Linked DNA regions of Homo sapiens: region 1 is linked to region 2. Evidence: promoter capture Hi-C in human tissues and cell types (Jung and others, 2019). All regions are on one chromosome and are shown on one strand. The core of a region is centred on a gene start or on the middle of the fragment in contact, and the rest is flanking DNA. Distances in the headings are between cores, read along the strand shown.

What was found. Contacts are between HindIII fragments. The study calls those that stand out against the background at their distance.
Region 1: a contact is called between a fragment that was not itself captured here and the fragment with the promoter of CEACAM8 in region 2, in 2 of the 25 tissues and cell types used here (heart left ventricle and stomach).

The regions. Positions count from the first base shown.
Region 1 is chr19:42,630,929-42,638,464 of GRCh38, reverse strand. The region is part of intron 2 of LIPE-AS1 (LIPE antisense RNA 1); the gene reads right to left. It also overlaps the pseudogene CEACAMP1. Among named protein-coding and RNA genes, the nearest start is that of CEACAM8, 40 kb to the right of the region's middle. The HindIII fragment of the contact is 7,533 bases long and covers 2,076-7,536 here.
Region 2 is chr19:42,591,555-42,598,148 of GRCh38, reverse strand. It overlaps CEACAM8 (CEA cell adhesion molecule 8), which reads left to right and starts at 3,225. Exons shown (of 6, transcript NM_001816.4): 1 at 3,225-3,384; 2 at 4,249-4,608. The coding sequence starts at 3,321. All of the region lies in intron 2 of LIPE-AS1 (LIPE antisense RNA 1), which reads right to left. RefSeq lists an enhancer at 1,392-1,892. The HindIII fragment of the contact is 5,245 bases long and covers 392-5,636 here.

The DNA of each region.
Region 1 (7,536 bases), core at 4,593-7,092, 38 kb before region 2:
ATATGGTATAGTTCTCCATTTAGTAAGGCCTGCTTTAGTGTTTCTTGATTGCTATAATTTTGTCTGAAGAGATTGTGTGCATTTTGGTTTTGGTTGAATTGATTCCTAAATATTTTATATTCTCTGGCACTATTATGTTCTCTTTAATTACACTATCTAGTTGTTTGTTGTTAAATTAACATATTTTAGTCTATTCTTATACTACTCAGCTCCCTAAACTCTCTTATTATTTCTAATTATTTCCATTAGACTATTTTGAATCTTTCTATATAAACAATGTTATTCTTTGAAATTAATGATGGTTTTATTTCTAGTTTTTTAATCCTCATACCACTGATTTATCTTTCATTTCTTATTGCTTCAGGCTAGGAACTCTAATATGTTAAATAAACATCATGATCTTGAAAACAGTGAGCATTAACATTTCTTCTGTGAACTGATTTTCATATATTTGCCTTCTGCTATTCTTTAGTCTTGTTAATTTTGAGTATCCTTTATATAATAGCACATTACCTGTTTATTATAATGGCAAATAGTTTAAGATAGTATTTGTTTTCCTTAAAGAGAATTTTTTGACGTGAAGACTCTTTTCGAAATTTTCATGGGTATCAATCTTTTCTTCCTTGGCTATACAATAACAAAGTCCTTCCCCACTTTGAGGTGCTTTGGTGGCTTTGATTTGACATTTAAGTTTTATTCATTTGGAACATGTCCAGGAATATGTTGTTCTGTTCAAGACAGTTGCTAGTTATCCACCTAACACTGTGAATGTCCATGTTGTCCACAATAAGTCACTTTAAAGACTTTGTCAGTACTCAAGGAACATGCCTAATCTCTACAAATGATACACATTTCAACCACACAATCAACAGGCAATGACGATGGCACACTACAGCCAAATACCCTGCACCATAGACGTTCTCTTCAAGTCCACAAGGAACATTTATGAAGACTGGGCTTACTCATATATTAGCAGATATTATTGAATAATTTTTACTCAAGCACATATTTTGTATACAGTTCGATCTAGATGTAATCGCTATAACATAAATTTTAGAAATTAGAAAAATTAGACATCTGGGGATTTTCAAAGCACGGGTCAATCAAGACACAGTGATGAACATATTAAGTACCTGGTACTTGACTAACAGCTACATCTACCAAAAGTCGTAAGATGCAGCCACAGTGATGCCCCAGGGAATTCACAACCCAAAATGCTTCCACTGAAAACATTGATTAAAAATGAGTTAATCATCCAAATAAGAAGTGAGTGAAAAACAAAGCAAGTAGAATAAAAGTGTAAGAAACTTAAAGGTAGAAAATAATAAACTAGAAGACAAATTTAAAAACCCAAAGCATTCAAAAGGTTATTTAAACTTCTGGACTAATTCATCAACAAAGCAATAGAAGAAGAAGAAATAAACTGCGTTAGCAGTGAGAAAGAATGGGTATAAACGCAGCTGTGGCAGGGTTGAAAGCTCCTATTTAATAAATGGTATTGGGAAAACTGGCTGGCCATATGCAGAAAACTGAAACTGGACCCCTCCCTTACATCTTATACAAAAATTAACTCAAGCTGGATTAAAGACTTAAACGTAAGACCTAAAACCGTAAAAACCCAAGAAGAAAACCTAGGCAATACCATTCAGGACATAGGCATGGGCAAAGACTTCATGACTAAATCACCAAAAGCAATGGCAACAAAAGCCAAAATTGACCAATTGGATCTAATTAAACTAAAGAGCTTCTGCACAGCAAAAGAAACTATCATCAGAGTGAAGAGGCAACCTACAGAATAGGAGAAAAGTTTTGCAATCTATCCATCTGACAAAGGGCTAATATCCAGAATCTACACAGAACTTAAACAAATTACAAGAAAAAAATCAAACAACCCCATCAAAAAGTGGGCAAAGGATACGAACAGACACTTCTAAAAAGAAGACATTTATGCAGCCAGCAAACATATGAAAAAAATCCCATCATCACTGGTCATTAAAGGAATGTAAATCAAAACCACAATGAGATACCATTTCACACCAGTTAGAATGGTAATCATTAAAAAGTCAGGAAACAAGAGATGCTGGAGAGGATGTGGAGAAATAGGAATGCTTTTACACTGTTGGTGGGAGTGTAAATTAGCTCAACCATTGTGGAAGATGGTGTGGCGATTCCTCAAGGATCTAGAACCAGAAATACCATTTGACCCAGCAGTCCCATTACTGGGTATATACCCAAAGGATTATAAATCATTCTACTATAAAGACACATGCACACATATGTTTATTGCTGCACTACTCTCAATAGCAAAGACTTGAAACCAACCCAAATGCCCAAATGCCCATCAATGATAGACTGGATAAAGAAAATGTGGCACATATACACCATGAAATACTACGCATCCATAAAAAAAGATGAGTTCATGTCCTTTGAAGAGACATGGATGAAGCTGGAAACCATCATTCTCAGCAAACTAACACAGGAACAGAAAACGAATCACCGCATGTTCTCACTCATAAGTGGGAGTTGAACAATGAGAACACATGGACACAGGGAGGTGAATATCATGCAATGAAAAAGTAAAACTGCATGCCCTACTTGGGAACAGAGAGGGAAAATCCACAAATGAAATATGACCCCAAAAAAGTCAGGATTTACCACATTGAGTTTGTTCCCCAAAAATGAAAGGTGAGTTTAACACCCAAAAGTCAACAATTGCCTTTACTTCAAAAGATTAACTAGAAAAAAAATTATTAGCAGAACAGAAGCAAAATGACCTTGCATGAAATTCCACATCATTCCATCCTGATGCAGACAGTGCAGACATGAGTGGCAAATGATGAAAAGAGGTCCCTTTTTTCAGGCCCTGAGAGGAGCCTGCACCTGGTGGCTGCCACATTCCTTCTGATTCTTCCAGGCAACGGCCCTCCTTGAAATCCCTGGGAGGACTCGTGCTCCACTGGGAAAGGCCCCATGTGGAAAGCTCCACAGCAGCTCTGTCAAAGCCCTCAGGCACAGATCCTGAGTGACAGGACCTTTAGGGACACAGACAAATGGACATGTCCCCAGTGCCCACACTAGGCAGGGGCATCTGGACCAAGTGTGAAGCTCCCTCACCTGGACCCAGCCTCTCCCCAGTGACTTGGGCCTTGGGGTGGCTTCAGGTCTCCAGTCCATGCCACCAAAATCTCCAGAGTGACAGTCCTCCCTGGGGTCCATGATGCCTGTCCAGGTGCTGCTGCCTGAGTAAAGCTAAAGAATGCGGAGGGCTGGAGTTGTGACAGTAAAAGCAGCCATATTTGTCTCAAAATTGAAAGGGAGGGCATGAGCTCCAGGAATGGTGAGGGTGCCCTCTAGTGGTTCCCTCCTGCTAAGGAGCAAAAAGGGGCCAAGAGAGTTGAGAGATCAGGGCTGGCCTTGGACTAAGTGTGAGTTCAGATGGAGGGAACTAAGGTGCAAGGAGGGAGCTGAGATGGGAAAGCAGTCCAGAAAGATGAAAGGATCAGGTCTGGGGAAGACCCAGGGAAGCTAAAGAAGGGCACAGCAGGGTTCTGCACTCCTCAGCATTGACACAGGGGTGGTCATGCTAATGGGGCTCTGTGAGCAGCAGGGTGTTCAGCACCCTCTGGGAACTCTACCCACTCAATGCCACAGGACTCCCTCCCCCAGTTCTGTCAACCAACAATTTCTCCAGACTTTGCCAAATGCCCACTCAGAGGGCAAAAGTGGCCCTGACAGAATCAGATCTACACTAACCTCTCAAAGCAACTCACCAGTAAAATCCTTCATCTCTTGGTGAAAGAATTGTGAGTATGTGAGGGGTACAACTGACATCTTCAGTATCTGTTGAAATGACTTTTACTTAATCAGCAATTTGATGTCACGGGAGAAAGCATGTTTAGAGCTGATGCCACATTGCTGCCTGTACCTCGCAGCAGAGAGGGTACGGGTTTTCCAATGGTCTGTAACCACAAACCAGAATGACACCCACTGAGTTACATTACAAAACGGAATATGGAGAATTCTGTAGATATGGGGTGGGAGAAATAAAGCATGAAACCACACCACAAGACACCAAACAGTCCACTCTGATGTTCTCACCATTTTAGGCCATATTAGCTATCTATGAATGAAAAGTCAATTATCTTATTAAGAAAAAATACCTTATGCAGAATAAACTTATAGCATAGGAATTTCTGTACATTTTCAAAATTGTCTACTGTTGGATCATTCCTTAAATATGAATCCATCCCAAAATTCCACCCCATCTGCCCTCTCAGGTGTGAGCAGTGACCCCCACATGGGGTCTGCTGCCACTGCCTGTTCTTCCTCTACACTGAGGGCCTTGACAAGGTCAAAACCCTCAGGACAGACCCCAGGGAATGTCAGCACAGGGAGGGCTGAGCCCATCCTGGCCACAGAGTAAGTCAGATTGAATGTCTTCAGCTCTGAGCCCCTGCTCTGTCCCAGGTTCTCTGTCCTGGGTCTCAGAGAGCCATGTCCTGTGAAGTCCCTGGGCAGCCCCCTACTCCCTGCTGCATCAGCCTTGGGGAAGGTGGAGTGACCACAGGACAGTCAGCTGGGCAGATGACGGGACACCAAAGATAGTCAGAGAAAACATGAATGGGCCTCAGCCCCAGCTCAGCAACCAGAACCCAGGGTGCAAGAGAGTGGCTGAGACCAGTTCCTGGGACCACAGCCCCCACTGACCAACCAGCAGAGGCCTCTCTTCCCAGAAGGCATGAGAGATTCATCCTGCACACCTCCAGGAAGGACAGTCTCTTCTGGGACACCCGGGTCATTGAATGTCCATCCTTGGAAACTGTAGCCAATATTGACACAATGAGAAAAAGGGTCCCTCTCACCAGCCAGCACTCAGCTCACCCAAAGCACAGTGAGGGTAGATCCCTGTGACAGGGCCCTGGTGCAGTCCAAGCCTCCTGCTCTGAACGGAAGAGCCAGGTGGGGATGGAAGAGGGCAGAAGGGGTAACTGTGCAGGCTGACCTGGAGCCATAAACATGGCTGGATGCTGAGGACCCAGAACTGGGCTCACCCAAACTACAGGGTTTCTGTGTGACTATGTGTATCTGTGTGTCTCTTTGTGTGTGTGTCTGTGTGTCTGCACATAGCATGTGTAGAGGTTGGGTGAGAGAATCACTGCTGAAGGAGGCAGAGGCCTCAGCAATTCCCAGGGGCCTGAAACACAGACAGAAGAGAAAGGTAGAAAAGAGACAGGGAGGCAGGACTGAGAGGGGAGGGGACAGAGAGGTGTCCTGGGCACAGACCCCAACCATGAGCCTGAGAGGCGCTCCTGCCCTGGGAAGAGGCTCAGCGCAGAAGGAGGAAGCACAGCACAGCTGACAACCATGCTCAGAAAGTTTCCGGATCCCAGGCTCACCTCCACAGAAGAGAACACACAGGCAGCACAAGCCATGAGGCCCCTCTCAGCCCCTCCCTGCACACAGCGCATCCCCTGACAGGGGCTCCTGCTCACAGGTGAAGAGAGAACTTTCTGGGAGTGAACACAAGGAGGAAGCAGAGTGACTGGCTGGGGTCTCCTGGGGAGGACAGAGCTCTGAGCGGGGACTGAGGGCTTCTGTTGGAGCCTGGATACGGGAGAGGACACCAGAGAGGAACAGGGGTCACAACAGGAAAATCATATAAAACTGGAACTGGTAAGAGGTAGGAAAATCTTAAGTATTCTGTTTTCCTGGTTAATCATCACTGGCCACTAAATTTTGAAAAATGATAATAATAACTATATCAGATGACACTTCAAATAAAAACATAACCAGGGCATGAAACATTATCCTCAGCCTCCAACCTCAGAAATTGGTCCAGGACATGGAAGACCTTGGGAACGCTCATGAGCTCATCCACAGGAGTCTGCAGCCTGTCCCAGGAACTGAGGTGCAACCAAGATCACACAAGACCCTGCTCTCACAGAGCTCATGCTTTCATGGGAAGGAAGACAGACATGCAAAGAGATCTAGAATGTGAGGTCAGGTGTTGACAGGAGTTGTGGAGTAAACAGAACAGGGAAAGGTCAGCAAGGGAAGACCCAGGGTCTCTAGAGGAGGTGTCAGGGGAAGAGTCTCCCAAGGATGCCTGATGTGAGCAGGACCTGAGGGCAGTGGGGAGGGGGCCGAGCAGACCCCTGGGGAAGAGGATTCCAAACAGGAAAATGCCAAGGTCAGAGATGTTGAAGGAATGGGGATCATGCTGCTAACCTTGACTCAGTAGGACACACACACACATACATACTCAAAGGCTGAGGGGTGAAGAGACCTTCTCAGGACACAGGGCCCCATCTTTCCCCCCCAATACATAGGTCCCAATGTTGACTGATGCTCTCTCTCTCTCTCCTAGCCTCACTTTTCACCTTCTGGAACCCACCCACCACTGCCCAAGTTACAGTTGAAGTTCTGCCATCTAATGCGGTAGAGGAGAAGGAGGTTGTTCTACTTGTCTACAATCTGCCCCAGGATATACTTGGCCACAACTGGTACAAAGGGGAAACAATAGATGCCGACGACTGAATTGCAAGATATGTAATACACAATGAAGTAACTATCCCAGGGCCTGCATACAGTGGCCAAGAGACAGTATACCCCAAAGCACGCCTGGAGATCTGGAACATCGCCCTGAATGACTCAGGATCCTACACCGTGCAAATTTTAAAGGCAGATCTTATGACTGAAAAAGTAACTGCACAGATCAGCGTACACCGTGAGTGATTCCTCATGACTTCTGGGTGTCGGGGGTCAGTTCTACTTCAAACACACAGGACTGTTAGACCTGGACTGTGCCTGTGTAGCCCTCTGCATTATGTCCCATTTTAGGGTTTGAGCATTTAGTGCAGGACACACACAGGGGAGACAAACATCTGCAGATCAAAATTGTTTCCCCAAATCCAGACCCTGCAGACATTCACTGCAGAGGAAGGACAGTCTGATGGGAGGGACACAGCAGGTGGAGAACAGTCTCAGCCAAGCACTCCGTGCCTTCCCCATGGACATGACCCTGAGAAATTCCTTGGAGAACTGGGTCAGGGCCTGGCCTGGGGGGCCCTCGGGGATTCTCTTAGAGAAGTTCAACCCTGGAAGCCTCAGCCCCAGAACCCGGTCCCAGAATCCTGACTTCATGTGACCCTCGGGAATGTGTGCCAGGGTTAGGTTGTGGCCTCCTGGGCAGGGCTGACTGGGAGCAAAGGTTTACCAGCTGTACAAGGGCCATGGTTCCTGGAGCTGTTTAACAGCCAGGGCTCAGCACCCAGAGCCTCATCTGGGCATGGACAGAGCCTAGTCCTTCACCTGAGACTCAGAGTGCAGAGGACAGATGGACAAGCTTCTTAGGCCATCAGCCAACTGCCCTGGGAGACTTAAGAGACTCCGTAGATAATTCAATGTCTTCAGGGGCAGAAACAGAAGAGAGAAGATGTTCCTGGTAGCATCTTGTTCATCATGGATCAGGCCTAGATATGCTCTTTCATGCAGGCAAATAATAATAAACATTGTTTGTGTGAACACGTCCTCTGT
Region 2 (6,594 bases), core at 1,976-4,475:
AACCTGGATGGGATTGAAGACTATTATTCTAAGTGAAGTGACTCAGGAATGGAAAACCAAACATCGTATGTTCTCATTCATAAGTGGGAGCTAAGTGATGAGGATGTAAAGGCATAAGAATTACAAAATGGATTTTGGGGACTCAGGTAAAAAGGGTGGGAAGGGAGTGAGGGAAAAAATACTACAAATTGGGTTCAGTGTATACTGCTTGGGTGATGGGTGCACCAAAATCTCAAAAATCACCACTAAAGAACTTACTCATGTAACCAAATACCAATCGGTTCCCCAAAAAACCTATGTAAATAAAATATATATTTTTTAAAAAAAGAAAAAGAGGGGTAGATCTTGATGACTTCGAATGTGGTAATGGATTGTTAGATATGACACAAAAGCATGAGCAACAACAAGGAAAAAGAGATAAATTAAGCCTTATGAAGATGCAAGCCTTTTGTGCATCAAAGGACATTATGAAGAAAGTGAAAAGACCAGGCACAGAATGGGAGAAAAAATTTGCAAATTACATATAGAAGAGCTTCCTGTCCAGAATATATAAAGAACTGCTACAACTCAATAACAAAAAGACAAACCACCCCGTTTATAAATGGGCAAAAACTCAAATAGACATTTCTTCAAAGAAGATATACAGGCCGGGTGCAGTGGCTCATGCCTGTAATCCCAGCACTTTGGGAGGCTGAGGCAGGTAGATCACAAGTTCAGGAGTTTGAGACCAGCCTGGCCAGCATGGTGAAACCCCACCTCTACTAAAAATACAAAAATTAGCCCGGCATGGTGGTGCACGCTTGTAGTCCCAGCTACTTGGGAGGCTGAGGCAGGAGAATCGCTTGAACTCAGGAAGTGGAGGTGATATATGAATGTACATATATACACTCTACCACAATTTTTTGAAAAGTCTTTGGTGAAGAAAACCTACTACGTAAAACATACCCACCCTAATCAGATAGCCCTCATACACTTACATGCAGTCCCTACATGACCTTATCCACAGAGAGATTCAAGGATTCAGAGACATGAAACTGCCCAGCCAACTGCAGATGCACAACATAAATGTATTTGCAAAGAGACTGAGAGTTAAGCTGGAGACACAGACCTCAGCACTGCCAGGACTCTCACCCTCCCCCATGGATTCTGACTTTATCTTACTTGGCGCATTATTCAGATCTTGTTGTGGAGTTGGGGCAGGGTAGGTCATAAAGCCTGACCCCAGGACACTCTGTGTGAGCACATGAGCCACACACACCCCATTAGATCTCCACACACAGCTGTGACCATTGTGAGGAGGACTAACACAGGCTCAGAGATCACACCAGAGAATCAGCCACAGAGAAAAACACGGATGTGGAATGTGATGGAGCTCGACATAACATGTGGGTGACCTCGTGTGAAATGTGCAGATCCATGTGGAATAAAACACGCAGCCGGACCTGGGACTGCGGCCACCCACACTTCCCTTCCAGTCCACCAGAGGGCGACAGAGTCCCTCCAGCCTGGAGCCTTCCCAGGGGCTGCTGACCTCCCTCAGCGGAACCCACAGCCCAGCAGGGTCCACCCTCACCAGGGCACCTCGGCCCACGTCCTCCTTACCCTCCAAGCTCCCCATACGGACTCTGTCAGCTCCTCCCTGCAGCCAGGCAGCCGGCAACATGAGGCCGCCCCCTCTGCAGGCAGCTCCTGCCCCACACACCCAATCCTTCCCTGGGCCTAGTTAAGGCATCTCCCAGGGCAGCGCTGGTGCACGGGATGCCACACTGGGCGCTTTCCCCTCGTGACCTCCCTCCATCCTCATCAACTCTTTCTGTGACTGCTCCCTAAATACCCGCCCCTGCTCCGTGTGTCCTGTTCTCTACGGCATGGCAGGCTGAGCCCAGCGCTGACAGAACCACAGCTGCCTGAGGGCCCACAGTGCCTCTGGGGAATCAGCCAGGCACCCTATGACCTTCCCTCTGCACCCCAGGAGGCTCGGAGAGTATGTGATGGTCACGCCCAGGCACTGTCTGGGATGTAGCCACCTGCCCCCTGCTGTCCTTCGTGAAGCCAGGAGGGAGGACAGCGCTCTCTCATGTACACAAGCTGGGGGGCAAGGAATGAGCTCCCTTTGTTCCCAGAACATGGCCCACCCCTACCTGCCCTCTCAGGTGTGAGCAACGTCCCCCCAGACGGGCTCCCCGGCCGCTGCCCATCCTTTCTCTACACAGAGGGGCCTGACCAGGTCCAAACCCTTAGGACAGACCCCAGGGGATATCAGCATGGGGAGGGCTGAGCCCATCCTGGCTGCAGAGTAAGTTGGGATGAGTCTCTCCAGCTCTGAGCCCCTGCTCTGTCCCAGGCTCCCTCTCCTGGATCTCAGAGAGCACTGTCTTGTGGGGCCCCTGGGCAACTCCCCACTTCCTGCTGCACCAACCATAGGGAAGGTGGGGTGACCACAGGACAGTCAGCCGGGCGAAAACAGAGGACACCCAAGATGGTCAGAGAGAACATGGAAGGCCCGAGCCCCAGCTCAGCTGCCAGAACCCAAAGAGCAAGAGAATGGCTGATACCTGTCCCTGATGACCACTAGGCCCACAGCCCCCACTGACCAACCAGAACAGCCCTCTCTCTCAGGAGGCATAAGAGATTATTTGCCCTGCACACCACCAGTAAGGACAGTCCCCTCTGGGATATCCAGGGCATTGAATGTCCATCCTTGGAAGCTGCAACCAAGCTTGACACAATGAGAGAGGGGGAGGATCCCTCTCACCAGTGAGCACACACCTCCCCAAAGCTCAGTGGTGGTGTCCCTGTGACAGGGTCCTTGCGGAGCGCTGACCTCCTGATCTGAAGGGAAGAGCCAGATGGGGATGGGAGAGGGCAGGGGGAGCGACTGTGCACCCCGACCTGGAGACATAGGCTGCAGGATGCTGAGGGCACAGGGCTGTGCTCACCCAGTCTCCAGGGTGTATGTGTGACTGTGTGTGTCTCTTTGTGTATGTGTGTGTCTCTGTGTGTGTGTGTCTGCATAGTGTGTGCAGAGGTTGGGTGAGAGAATCACTGCTGAAGGAGTCAGAGACCTCAGCAATTCCCAGGGGCCTGAAACACAGACAGAAAATAAAGGGAAAGGAGGGACAGGGAGGCAGGACTGAGAGGGGAGGGGACAGAGAGGTGTCCTGGGCACAGACCCCGCCCATGAGCCTGAGAAGTGCTCCTGCCCCGGGAAGAGGCTCAGCACAAAAGGAGGAAGGACAGCACAGCTGACAGCCGTGCTCAGAAAGTTTCTGGATCCCAGGCTCATCTCCACAGAGGAGAACACGCAGGCAGCAGAGACCATGGGGCCCATCTCAGCCCCTTCCTGCAGATGGCGCATCCCCTGGCAGGGGCTCCTGCTCACAGGTGAGGAGAGGACTTCCTGGGAAAGGACAGGAGGAGGAAACACAGTGACTGGCTGGGGTCTCCTGGGGAGGACGGGGCTCTGAGAGGGGACAGAGGACTTCTGTTGGAGCCTTAATAGAGGAGAGGACACAAGAGAGGGGAAGGGGTCACAACAGGAAAATCACATTGAACTGGAATTGGTAAGAGGCAGGAACATCTCAAGTGTTCCATATTCCTGGTTAATCATCACTGGCCACTACATTTTGAAAAATGATAATAATAACCATACCAGATGACACTTCAAATAAAGCATAACCAGGGTATGAAACATTGTCCTCAGCCAACAATGTCAGACATTGGCAAATAAGCCTCAGGAAGCAGAGGGCCCAGGGAATGCTCAGGAACTCATCCACAGGAGTCTGAAGCCTGTCCCAGGCACTGGGGTGCAGCCAACACCACACAAGTCCCTGCCCTCACAGAGCTCACACTCTCCTGGGGAGGAAGACAGACAAAGAGATCTAGAATGTGAGGTCAGGCGCTGACAGGAGCCCTGGAAGGAACACAGCAGGGAAAGGTCAGAAAGGGAAGACCCAGTGTCTCTAGAGGAGGTGTCAGAGAAAGGGTCTCCCAAGGATGCCCTGATGTGAGCAGGATCTGAGGGCAGTGTGGAGGGAGCCGTGCAGAACCCTGAAGAAGAGGATTCCACCAGGGAAATGCCAAGGTCAGAGGTGTTGAAGAAATGGGGGCTGTGCTGCTGACATTGACTCAGTAGGACACACACACATACACACACATAAAAACACACAAACTCCAAAGCTGATGTCCCCATTTTTCTACTCCAATACATATGTTGCAATATTGCTTGATGCTCTCTCCCCCTCCTAGCCTCACTTTTCACCTTCTGGAACCCGCCCACCACTGCTCAGCTCACTATTGAAGCTGTGCCATCCAATGCTGCAGAGGGGAAGGAGGTTCTTCTACTTGTCCACAATCTGCCCCAGGACCCTCGTGGCTACAACTGGTACAAAGGGGAAACAGTGGATGCCAACCGTCGAATTATAGGATATGTAATATCAAATCAACAGATTACCCCAGGGCCTGCATACAGCAATCGAGAGACAATATACCCCAATGCATCCCTGCTGATGCGGAACGTCACCAGAAATGACACAGGATCCTACACCCTACAAGTCATAAAGCTAAATCTTATGAGTGAAGAAGTAACTGGCCAGTTCAGCGTACATCGTGAGTGATTCCCCATGACCTCTGGGTGTTGGGGGTCAGTTCTACTTCCCACACACAGGATTGTTAGGCCTGGGCTGTGCCCATGTCCCTCTCTGCATTACATCCCACTTTAGGGTTTGGACATTTAGTGCAGGACACACTCAGGGGAGACAGACTTCCACAGACCAGAATTCCTTTCCTGCATCCAGACCCTGCAGACACTCACGGCAGAGGAATGACAGTCTGATGGGGGGACTCAGCAGAAGGAGATCAGACTCAGCCAGGCACCCCGTGCCCTCCCCATGGACCTGACCCTGAGAAAAACTCTAAAGAACTGGGTCAGGGCCTGACCTGAGGGGCTCCCTGGGATCCTGGGATCCTCACAGAGAAGTTCATCCCTGGAAGCCCCTGCTCCAGACCCCTGTCCCAGGATCCTGACTCCAGGTAACCCTGGGAAACCTGTGCCAGCACTGGGTTGTAGCCTCCTGGGCAGGGCCAACTAGGAGCAAAGATTTACCAGCCATCCAAGGGCTGTGGCTCCTGGAGCTGCTCACCAGCCAGGGCTTAGACCCCAGAGCCTCATCTGGGCAAGGACAGAGTCTTGTCCTTCACCTGAGACTCAGAGTGGAGAGGACAGATGGACAAGCTTCTTAGGCCATCAGCCAACTGGCCTGGGAGGCTTAGGAGACTCCATAGAAAGTTCAGTGTCCCCAGGGACAGAAATAGAAGAAAGATGTTCCTAACAGCAACTTGTCCAGCAGGGATCATGCCAAGGGGACCCTCTCATGGAGGCAAATAATAACCCGTGCTGTTTGTGTGAGCGCCTCCTCTGTGCAAGCTTCAGGTCAGGTGACTATGGATAATTTAATGCTAATTCATAGAAAACCTGGCAGAAAATATCATTTTCCTATTGAGAAAGAAATAATAATTCTTTTTATTTCTTTTTTTTTTTTTTTTTTTTTTTGAGACGGAGTCTCTGTGGCCAGGCTGGAGTGCAGTGGTGCGATCTCAGCTCACTGCAACCTCTGCCTCCCGGGTTCAAGCGATTCTCCTGCCTCAGCCTCCCGAGTAGCTGGGACTACAGGTGCATGCCACCACCCCTAGCTAATTTTGGTATTTTTATTAGAGACAGAGTTTTACCATGTTGGCCAGGATGGTCTCGATTTCTTGACCTCATGATCCGCCTGCCTCGGCCTCCCAAAATGCTGGGATTACAGGCATGAGCCACTGCGCTCAGCCTATTATTTCTTTTAATAGAAGCTTATTATTGAGAAGAAACGGAGGCACAGGAAGACACAGTCACTGAACCAGGGTCACACAAACACGAGGGATAGATCAGGGTCACATGAGGTCTCTCTCCAGCCACAGCCCCGTCCTCTCTTCCACAAGAAGGCAGGGCTTATTGCGTTCCACGGACCCCATGGTCATCCATTGGCTCAAATCCTTTCTTCCTGAGCATCCAAAGCTCAGAGAAGTGAGAGCAAATAAGCAACTGATTCATTCGTACTCCAGAACTAAATCACCTGCCCCAACTGTCAGAGCCAGTGCGAGGAATGTCCAGGCTCCCTCTAAGATCCTAACCCCCCTCACTGAACCTGAAATCCTGTTTCCTGATGTGTTGCTGTCACTCCCATGGGAGGACAAAAGAGAGGACTTTGCTTTCTCTCCCCACTCACACCCTGCACCAGGACAGGCCCAACATGTGACACACACTCGATCGTTCTCTCATGGAGAGGGAATGAATGAGAGAATGAATGATGCAAAACCTCTTTAGAGACTAGATCCTGGATGGCCAGGCAGGTGCTGTCTGATGGGCTTACTGCCTGTTCCACACACATCTGTGTCCTCATGATGGCACCATTGTGATAAGATGGGGTCCTTCAGGTGGGGAGACGCATGAGCCACTGGCGTCTCACTTAGACTCTGTCCAATTCGCAAAAACCTAATCCAATTCTACTTGTGTCTCCCGAGGTCAAGAGAAAATGAAGAAAGCATTGCGCATACCTG